3 separate regions of the Homo sapiens genome follow, and regions 1 and 2 are each linked to region 3. The links are contacts of gene promoters, found by promoter capture Hi-C in blood cells and fetal thymus (Javierre and others, 2016). All regions are on one chromosome and are shown on one strand. The core of a region is centred on a gene start or on the middle of the fragment in contact, and the rest is flanking DNA. Distances in the headings are between cores, read along the strand shown.

Region 1 (3,172 bases), core at 200-2,699, 1.9 Mb after region 3:
ATTTGGTAAAATTTGAGATACTATTAATCTGGGAGAATTGATGAGTTCATTAAACAACTGAAGATTCAAAAAGATATTTACAATCTAGAGTGAAGAGCTACAAACTGGCTTCTGTAGTGTAAGTGGAAATTCTGCAGTTGATTTTTAAATTAGCTTGTGCAAATACAGGAGGGTGACTTGATGTAATGGCAAATGATAACATAAAAAATTAATTGATGGTATCTCCATTTGACTAAAAAGGCTTAGGAGGCTTTGAAAAGCCAAGAATTTGAGGTTATCAATGTGGGTTCTCAGGGGTTTGCAGAATTCTAGCCTAACAACTATTATACCAATTCTTTCTAAAGATGCAAAGGCAAGGAATAGTGGGTGGTGTGATTGTTGAGGCAACTTAATCTATACTGTTCTTTATAATATTTTAATGTCCTTTATTTGCAAACCTTGCTATTTAAGCTATAATTGGAAACCAGTTCTCTGTGATCTATCTCAAAACTGACTATACCAAAGGATGTGGCTACAAATGAGGCTCATAAACCTCCCTGACAACCTGGGAATTTTTTTTTTTTAAATAGAGTCTCGCTTTGTCACCCAACCTGGAGTGCAGTGGTGCTATCTCAGCTCACTTCAACCTCCGTCTCCAAGGTTCAAGCGATTCTCTTGCCTCAACGTCCTGAGTAGCTGGGATTACAGGTGTGCGCCACCATGCCCGGCTAATGTTTGTATTTTTAGTAGAGATGGGGGTTTCACCATGTTGGCCAGGCTGGTCTCGAACTCCTGACCTCAAATGATTTGCCTGCCTCGCCCTCCCAAAGTTCTGGGATTACAGGCATGAGCCACCATGCCCGGCCTGGAAAAACTTTTTAAGAAGTGTCCCCACAGAAATTCCAATTGATTAAGTCTGGGCAGGGGATGAGGTCAATGAATCATTCTGATGATCAGTTAGATTTGAAACCACTGAACTGCGTAGGAAACTAGTCATTAACTGGTTTGGAGGTGACTGGTTCCCATCCTAAACACCTACAGAGAGATAGAACTTTTTTCCTTGTGCTTCGCAAGCATTCAGAACAATTAGATTGGGCCTGTAGTGGGTATGACAAACTTATGTGCTTGAATCTGTGGCTAATTATGATTTACTAGAGGCATTTGTTGGTATTGGATATAAAAATGTAGAAAGATCTGCTTAGACTTATAAAACTCATTTTCTTAAAACAATTCAGTTTTCAAAATAAATTCAATCAGTATGTATCTATTCTTTTTAATATTTTCAAGTGAATAGTCATTAATAAGCAATAGCTATGTGTAATGATGCTGTGGATGTTATGAAGAGAGATGAATAAAGTCATAAGAGGTGGTTTGGAACTAACTCGTCATACCCAGAGAACCTACATTTTAAAAAATGAACAAATAATTTATCATCTGTATTCTTTAGGTTTAATTTTATTAGTCGTCATATTTAAGTTATGATTGATATACCATGAAGTCCATGCTTCGTAAGTGTATTGTTTGATGGGTTTTAGTAAATCTGTCCCGCTGTGTAAGCACCATCACCGTTCTAGAACACTTCCATTTTCTGACAGCAAAGTCCCCTCCTGCCTGTATACAGTCCCACAGCCTCAGTGAATCTCTGATCTACTTTCTGTCTCTATTATTTTTGCCTTTTCTAGAAATTCCCTATAAATGGAATCATAAAACCTTTAGGGTTTTGTGATGGGCTTCTTTCACTCAGCATAATGTCTGTGAGGACGATCCTATTCTTCGTGTGTATAAGTGTAATCAGTCACTCCTTATTTTTCGCTGTTGCATTTCTGTCTGTGATCCATTTACTAATCAATTTTTTGTGTATCATGTGAAGTAAGACTCTAAGTTTATGTATTTATGTATGTATGTATTTATTTATTTTTGCATCTGGATAACCAGTTGTCCCACTACTATTTAAAAAGACCATCTTTCCCCATTGAGTTACCTGGGCACCCTTGTTAGAAATCAATTGACCATAAGTGTACAGATTTATCTGTACATTCTCTCTTCTGTTCCATCAATCTTTATGTCTGTTCCCACAGAAAGCATAAGTATTAATTTATGAAACCTTTGTTTCAGTTATATAAAGTAGGCTATTGTGTAAAATGTATTTCCTACTGAGGATTATGGTAAAAATATTTTTTAAACGACATTTGTCTAGGGAGTGCCAGATAATATTCACAATAAGACACAAAAAAGAGTCCTAGAATAAATAGGCTGTTGGAAACCCATAAAGATTGCAGAACCAGGTACACCCTCATGCTTTGCAGAAGGGGAAACTGAGGCTTATGGAGAGAAACTAACCTTCCCAAGGTTATGACAGAATGCAAGACTGGAGGACCCCTGCCTGGAAGACCCCATCTTCCCACTGCACCTCCCAGCTTCTTCTATCTCCTCCCTCCACCAAGCTCCTGCTGGCAGCAGCTGGCAGAGCCCACGGGGGCACAGGGCTAGGCAGCAGCCCACTGGTGCTCCTGTCTTAACCCCTCTCCTCAGCCTCCTCTCTGAATCTCTCTGAAAACAGTCTCCCCAGATGCTGCAGAGCCCTGCCAGGTCCAGATGACAGTTCCCTGGGCTCCTACCCCTTCCTTCTTCGGAGATGAAGGAGCTGGCTTTTCTTCAAGGACTCTTCTCAGAATGGAAAAAAGAAAGCAGTGCCACCGACGTCAAATGGCTCTTACACAATGGTGGAGTCTTGCTCAGAATTGTGTAAATAACTGGGGAACATATGAATTAAATTTCCCTCTACTTACCCAGGGATGTAATAAGTCAGGACTGTGAGAAAGGCTGCCACTCGGCCCCAGCACTCAGAACACCTGAAGGAGTTGTCATGTCCCCAACCCTAGTGGCTTCTTACCCTGGAGCATTTCTATCCCTCTCAAGTTCCAAGGGCTCCTATGCTCTGCAAGGCACCCACACATGGGCTTGCCTCTGTCCCTGACAGGGTGGCCTCGGTCATGACTGCAGCGTCCCAGGCAGCCTCCACCCCTTCTTCATAGGGAGAGCATGCTTCCAACCTCTCAGACAGGGCTGGATATGTCTGATCATTAGTTCATTCATTCATCCCTTCACTCAACTAATACTTGTTAAGCACTGTGTTGGGAAATGCTGTGCTAGCAGTGGGAATGCAACAGTGAACAAGAAAACACAGTCCTGC
Region 2 (3,455 bases), core at 298-2,797, 1.9 Mb after region 3:
AATGAAAGGAAAATCAATCTGGCTGTTGAGGCTTTGTTTGATTTACCTAATTGATGAATTCAACCAACACTTACCAAGAATCCTTTATATATTGAAGCCCTTGGTTCAGCACCTTGGAGAGGATCCAGAAAAGACCTGGAGACCTATTTTGTTCCTAAGATATTTATAGTATCAGGTACTAACAAACTATGACAAAGTAGAAAATAACTGTGATATGTAGAAGTAGGAGGTTCAATTAAGGAGTGAGTGGAACTTGGGAAGATTATTCTTACCAAGAGAATCGGGAAAACTTTCCTAGCCAGTCAATATTGGAGCTGAATCTTGAGAATGAGAAGAATGCAGACATGCCAGGAGGAAGGTGAGTCAAGGCACTACCTGAGAGGCAGGTGAGTGTGAGGACTGTTCATGGTACAAGGAGCTAATCCACAGCATTTATCAAGTGCCTACTGTATGCCAGGAGTTGTGCAGAGCTCTTGAAACAAATTATTTCATTTGATTGAGAAAACTGAGGCACAGATAGGCTGATCACCTTGCTTGAAGCTTAGAAGTGACAGAATGGATGCCATGTCTGGTAGTAGTTATAGGAGTTTGTATAAAAGGTGCTGACGCTAAATCAAGAGGACTTTGGATATCAAGCTTAGGAGGCAAATATGTCCAGCTCTTGAGATATTCTCTATAGGTCTTGTTACTGAAAAGATTGAACATATTAGTTATTAGCTAAATGTTTCTCTCATCGTAGTGATTTGGGATGTCTTGAAAACCTGGGCTTCTATGGCAGAAGTGAAGATGTTCAACTGCTGTTACTTTTTCTTACCACATGGTTCTTGCCTCTAAATTAAGCAGAACTCTGAAATAATCTAAGAAAAGTCTTACTTCAGTTGGAATCCTTTGACTCTGGCAGAGGAGAAGTAAGGAGTCTTGCCACAGGTAGGCAACAGACTGGTTTAGAAAGGAGTCCCCACCACTCACTTCAGCCTGAGTAAGAAAGCCCTATTGTGTGGAGAATAGACAGAAGAGGCTAGAACAAGCACCTACAAACCAGGGATCAGCAAACCAAGTTCAGCTTTCCACTTGCTTTGTAAAGAACATTGTAATGAAACAAAGCCAGGCTCATTCATCTATTTATTGTCTATGGCTGCTTTCACACAACGATGAAGTGTTGAGTAGCTGTGACAAAGTCCATGTGGTCCACAAAGCCTAAACCCTCTGGCCCTTTACAGAAAAATGTTGCTGACCTCTGAAACAAAAAACTCAGAAAATCCTAGCATATCCACATGGGAAGGGAGAGTGGCCATCCTGTAATCCAATTACCTTCTCCCTCTCCACCCTGCTGCCGCCCACACACCGATAAAGAATCTGAACCCAAGAGAGGAAGAGATTTGCCTAAAATCACAGAACTGGTAAGAGAGCATACTTGGGGTCCCTAACTGTTAGACTAATATTCCTTCTGTTAATACCACACCAATCCTGAAAGGCTAAGGTAAGTTGTTTTCTTTTATTTTTTTCCTTTTCTTTTTTTTTTTTTTTTTTTTTTTTTTAGACAGAGTCTCACTCTGTCACCAGGCTGGAATGCAGTGGCATGATCTTGGATCACTGCAACCTCCACCTCCCTGGTTCAAAAGATTCTTCTGCCTCAGCCTCCCAAGTAGCTGGAACTACAGGTGTGTGTCACCGCACCCAGCTAATTTTTGTATTTTTAGTAGAGACGGGGTTTCACCGTGTTGGCCAGGATGGTCTCGATCTCTTGACCTCGTGATCCACCTGCCTCGGCCTCCCAAAGTGCTGGGATTACAGGTGTGAACCACTGTGCCCAGGCAGGTAAGTTCTTTTCTAAGCAACTATTCAATAACTACTTCCTGAAACACTGGGTGCCCAGCACCATCCCTTCTCAGGCTGCTGTGAGGAGTACAAGTTGCAGAAAGGAAGCCTGATGCCTTCCCATCATGTGGTCTGCACCAGAAGTGGTGGGAGACCTCACACAGTGGAGCAGTACCCTAAAACCTGCAGCTTGCGAAGGGAAAGGATACAGCATCATAATTTCCCTCTTAACCCTCTCAGAAAGTCCCCACAATGCAGATTGACTTTACATTCCTCTATGAGTCCGATGCCAGCAGTCGGTCCTCCAGGGCTGGAAATGATTTCTGCTTGTGGATAATGCCTCAGATGAAGTCGCCAGCTTGCGTTTAGCAGCCGTGTAATTCAGGATGCCTACAACTCTGAGCAGCACTCAGGGAATGAGACACATTGAGGAAACGGCAGGCACTCGGCTGCCATCCTACCCTCAGCCTGGGCTGGGGCTCTGCTTAATGAGCAGAAGGTCAGGCGGCCTCCCCAAACTGTTCAAATTACTTTCCTGCTCTTCTTCCCCATCAAGCTCAGGTAGTTAAATGAGAGCAAGTGTGACTCCACTGAACATAGGAAGCAATTCGAGCGTGGGGTTGTGTGTGGTAAAGCTTTCAGTGTCTAATGCAGACTGGCCATGTAGGGGAAGTGTGTGGAGTGTATGTGTGTGCGGGTGGGGGGGTTTCTAATGGTTAGGAACCCTAATTATGCTCCCTTAGCAGTTCTGTAATTTTAGGCAAATCCCTTCTTCTCTCTTGGGCTCAGATTCTTGTCATAAGCTAGTGGGAAGAGGAGATAACAGAGTGGATTATGACTGTTTGATCCACCCCCATGAGTAGATTACATGGGAGCACCATGTTTGGGGAGGTGAGAGATTTCCTCAAACAGGAAAGTCTTTTCTGGAAATAGCGGAATTGGATCTGGACTTTTTATCAGAGATTTATAGAATCATGCAATCAGAATGTCACCTGAAGGTCACTGACTCCCAGGTGATGCCCAGAGTGAGAACTGCACCTGAAGCATCTGAGACAGACAGGCTGTGCTGAGTTATCCCAGCGGCACGCTCACTATTTCCCGGGGCGCCCGCCATGTATTCAGACAACTTCAATTGTCAAGTAATGATTCTTTACATTGAAATGAACTCACAGTTTTCAGTCCTGTCTTCAAGTCCACATAGAATGAGTCTGTTCTCCCATTCCTCATGTTGGCACTGAGGGTGTTTGCTTTAGGCAGTAAAGTCCCCTTTCTATCCCCTCTTCTGTCCTCCTGATCATGGAGCAGATGGATGGATGATGTGTGTGTACATATGTGAGAAGACATGTGTGTATGCACATGTACATATGTGTTGGGATATGCACAGGAGAGAAGAGGGAGTAAATACAGCAGTTCTGAATTAGTACAGTATAAAAGCCAGGTGGAAGAGAGGGTAGAAAAACAGGCAGGCTGTACTGCAGAGGGCATTATATGTGAAACTCACGCAGCTAGACTTGAAGTAGGAGAGTGACACAGCCAAACTGGCAGTTTAAAAAGATTTCTCTGTGGCTGGGCTCAGTGGCTCAAGCCTGTAATCCCAGCACTTTGGGAGGCCGAGGCGGGCCAATCACCTGAGGTCA
Region 3 (3,417 bases), core at 551-3,050:
AGCTGATTAAAAAATAAATATGCATAAATAAAAAACGATTAATAAATGGGGAATAACTCAACCAGATATTGACACATAATATAAGGTTATAATAATTAAAACCATTTTGAGCTTTAAGAGACACAAATGGAATGGAATAGAAAATCCAGGTACAGAAACACACAGAGAAAAGTACTACATTATAAAATAATAAACATAAAATATCAAATATATGATATCGAGAAATCTAGCCTGCCATCTGGATAAAAATTCAAGTTGATTGCATACCTTCTTCTTTACTCAAGGCAAATTTTAGATGAAATATAAGTTCGTTGTTAACAGTAAAATAAAATTACTAGACAAAAACTTGGAAATTTACTTTATAATTATAGTATGGAGAAAGCTTTTCTCAAAAAGACATAAATTTAGAAGCCTTGAAAGAATGAGAAATTTGATACCTGTATTAGTTTGTTTCACACTGCTGATAAAGACATACCCCAAACAGGGAACAAAAAGAGGTTTAATTGGACTTACAGTTTCACATGGATGGGAAGACCTCAGAATCATGGCAGGAAGCAAAAGGCACTTCTTACATGGTGGCAGCAAGAGAAAATGAGCAAGAAGCAAAAGCAGAACCCCGTAATAAACTCATCAAATCTCATGAGACTTATTCATTATCACAAGAATAGCACTGGAAAGACCAGCCCCCATGATTCAATTACCTCTCCATGGGTCCCTCCCACAACATGTGGAAATTCTGGGAGATAGAGTCCAGGTTGATATTTTGGTGGGGACACAACCAAACCATATCAATACCCCAAAACTAAAGGTCATGAAAAATAGCATAATAATGTTAAAAGAGATATGACAAACTGGGAAAAATTTATTTGCAACATATAGGACAGAAAAGGAATTCAGTTCTCTAATACACAAATAGCTCTTACAAATCAATAAGAAAAAAATTAAACATCCCAACAGGAAAAAAAAAATGGGCTATAGTCATAAATAGGCAGTTCACAGAAAAATAAATAATATGGCTTTCTAACCCAAGGATAAAAACACATATCGTTCTTCAAATTCTAGTGATGCAATTTGAACCCCAAATAAGAGACTTTTCTTTACTATCTCACTGGCAATGTAAAAAGGTTTTGTAATACTTGATATTGGTGTGGGTGTGTGGAAAAGATTACCCTGATACTTTGTGAAAGTATTAATTGGTAGCACCTGTTTGGAAGGCAATTTGACAATACTCATCGGTTAAAATTTACATGACTTTGACCTAAAAATTCCACTTCTAGAAATCCATTAATACATTAAAGGAACAATTACATGTTTGTGCAAAGTCTTGTAAGCAAGGATATTTGTAGCAGCACTTTGTAGTAGCAACGGTAAAAATAGATATACATCAATGAGGGACTGGCTAAATAGATTAAGCTTAAGAGGTAATATTCTGCACTATTAAAAAACACTGAGATTGATCTATAGATGATTATATAAACCTCCAAGTTATATCACTGGTAGATATTATAGCATGAGGCAGGACAGTTTATGACATGTGCTTTCATTAGGTAAAATAATATGTAATAAATATGTGTGTAGATATGTACTTTTAAACGTGTATAGGCATATGTACACAGAGAGACCTTGATATGGTTTGACTATGTCCCCACCCAAATCTCATCTTGAATTGTAACACCCACAATTCCCATGTGTCGTGGGAGGAACCCGGTGGGAGGTGATTGAATTATGGGAGCAAGTTTTTCCTGCGCTGTTCTCGTGATAGTGAATGAGTCTCATTAGGTCTGATGGTTTTAAAAACAGGAGTTTCCCTGGACAAGTTCTTCTCTTGTTGCCACCGTGTGAGATGTGCCTTTCACCTTCTGCCATGATTGTGAGGCCTTCCCAGCCACGTGGAACTGTAAGTCCAATAAATCTTTTTCTTTTGTAAATTGCCCAATCTCAGGTATATCTTTATCAGCAACGTGACAATGGACTAATACAGAACTTTTTATTCTTTTATATTTATAGACTATTTATTTAAAAATACACAAGAAACTGTTGACTATCACCCATGGAGGGAAGGCTGAAGAACCGAGGGTCTGGTGTAGAAGAGAGAGTTCCTGAAAATGAACATTTTTGTAATATTTAAATATATATTTTACAATGTGTAATATTATTATTGAAAAAAATCAACAGTTTTAAAAGCTAATGAACTTAATAAATTAATCACTTTTTGCATCCATGAAAAGAGTAAGCAAAAATAAGTTTTTTATGTAGTATGCATAGTGTAAGGAAAGCAAGTCACTTGATGAACTCGTGCTTTTTTCTGTATATTGAAAAGATTTCAGACCCTACTATGTGCTAGTCCTAATGCCAGGTGCTTAAAGGACAACAAAATCAACATTTGCCCGCAAGGAATTCACGGTTCAATGGGAAGACCTCACATTCAGTCTTAGAGAAAGACTGTTGTTTCTCTTGCTTAGATCTAAAATGTTTAGTAAAGGCAGATGCCTCGAAGACTATGACAGGAACTTACCTAATTCAGCATTCTCCTCTGTAGACCTCACCAAGTCTCTTGGTAATTGTCAACATCTGTGAAACAGTTGACACACCTCACCACCCCTACGTCACTGAACTTCCAGGAATGATCCCAAGAGACATTTTATAAGAAGAGCTACTACCCATTTTGGTTCTATCCACTGAGCTTTACAGAATAATTTCAATTCCCAGAGGCATTACTCTTTTTAGCTACCGCTTTGGAATGTTCTTCCCCTTTGGTTCTCCTTCTTTGGCTAACTCCTGCCCAATATTAAATATTGGCTCAAGTGTTTCTTCTGAAAGTTTTCTCTGATTACGTGACACACAAATTAGGTTGAGTGCATTTTCCCCATGTTCCCACAGCTCTTTCTTCCTTACATTAGCTATTTATTTGTCACGTCCTCATACTAAAATACAAATTTACTGACATGGTTTGGCTGTGTCCCCACCAAAATATCAACCTGAATTGTATCTCCCAGAATTCACATGTGTTGTGGGAGGGAACCAGGGGGAGGTAATTGAACCATGGGGTCCAGTCTTGCCTATGCCAGTCTCTTGATAGTGAATAAGTCTCACGAGACTTGATGAGTTTAACAGGGGTTTCCACTTTTCCTTCTTCCTCATTTTCTCTTGCTGCGGCCATATAAGAAGAGACTTTCCCCTCCCGCCATAATTCTGAGGCCTCCCCAGCCATGTGGAACTGTCAGTTCAATAAACCTTTTTGTATTCCCAGTTTGGGGTATGTCTTTATGAGCAGTGTGAAAACGAACTAATATATTTACTTAAAGTTGTATCCCTGGAGGCTGACATAGAGTAGGAACTCTAGTTTAATGATTTCAACTTTCATGATTTCACTATCCTCCCTTGGGTTCTCCCAGTTTACAGGGCCAAACTGAATTT

The links. The method cuts DNA at HindIII sites, captures the fragments that hold promoters and counts their contacts. A CHiCAGO score of 5 or more calls a contact.
Region 1: a contact is called between a fragment that was not itself captured here and the fragment with the promoter of TPRG1-AS2 in region 3, in 2 of 17 cell types (total B cells and monocytes). The highest score is 7.5, in total B cells.
Region 2: a contact is called between a fragment that was not itself captured here and the fragment with the promoter of TPRG1-AS2 in region 3, in 2 of 17 cell types (monocytes and neutrophils). The highest score is 10.2, in monocytes.

What each region holds. Positions count from the first base shown.
Region 1 is chr3:187,313,848-187,317,019 of GRCh38, reverse strand. No RefSeq gene overlaps it. Among named protein-coding and RNA genes, the nearest start is that of MASP1, 24 kb to the right of the region's middle. The HindIII fragment of the contact is 3,543 bases long and covers 1-3,172 here.
Region 2 is chr3:187,337,425-187,340,879 of GRCh38, reverse strand. No RefSeq gene overlaps it. Among named protein-coding and RNA genes, the nearest start is that of RTP4, 29 kb to the left of the region's middle. The HindIII fragment of the contact is 1,817 bases long and covers 639-2,455 here.
Region 3 is chr3:189,238,977-189,242,393 of GRCh38, reverse strand. It overlaps TPRG1-AS2 (TPRG1 antisense RNA 2), which reads left to right and starts at 1,800. Exons shown (of 3, transcript NR_046722.1): 1 at 1,800-1,897; 2 at 2,008-2,117. All of the region lies in intron 4 of TPRG1 (tumor protein p63 regulated 1), which reads right to left. RefSeq lists an enhancer at 2,718-3,417. The HindIII fragment of the contact is 9,051 bases long and covers 1,416-3,417 here.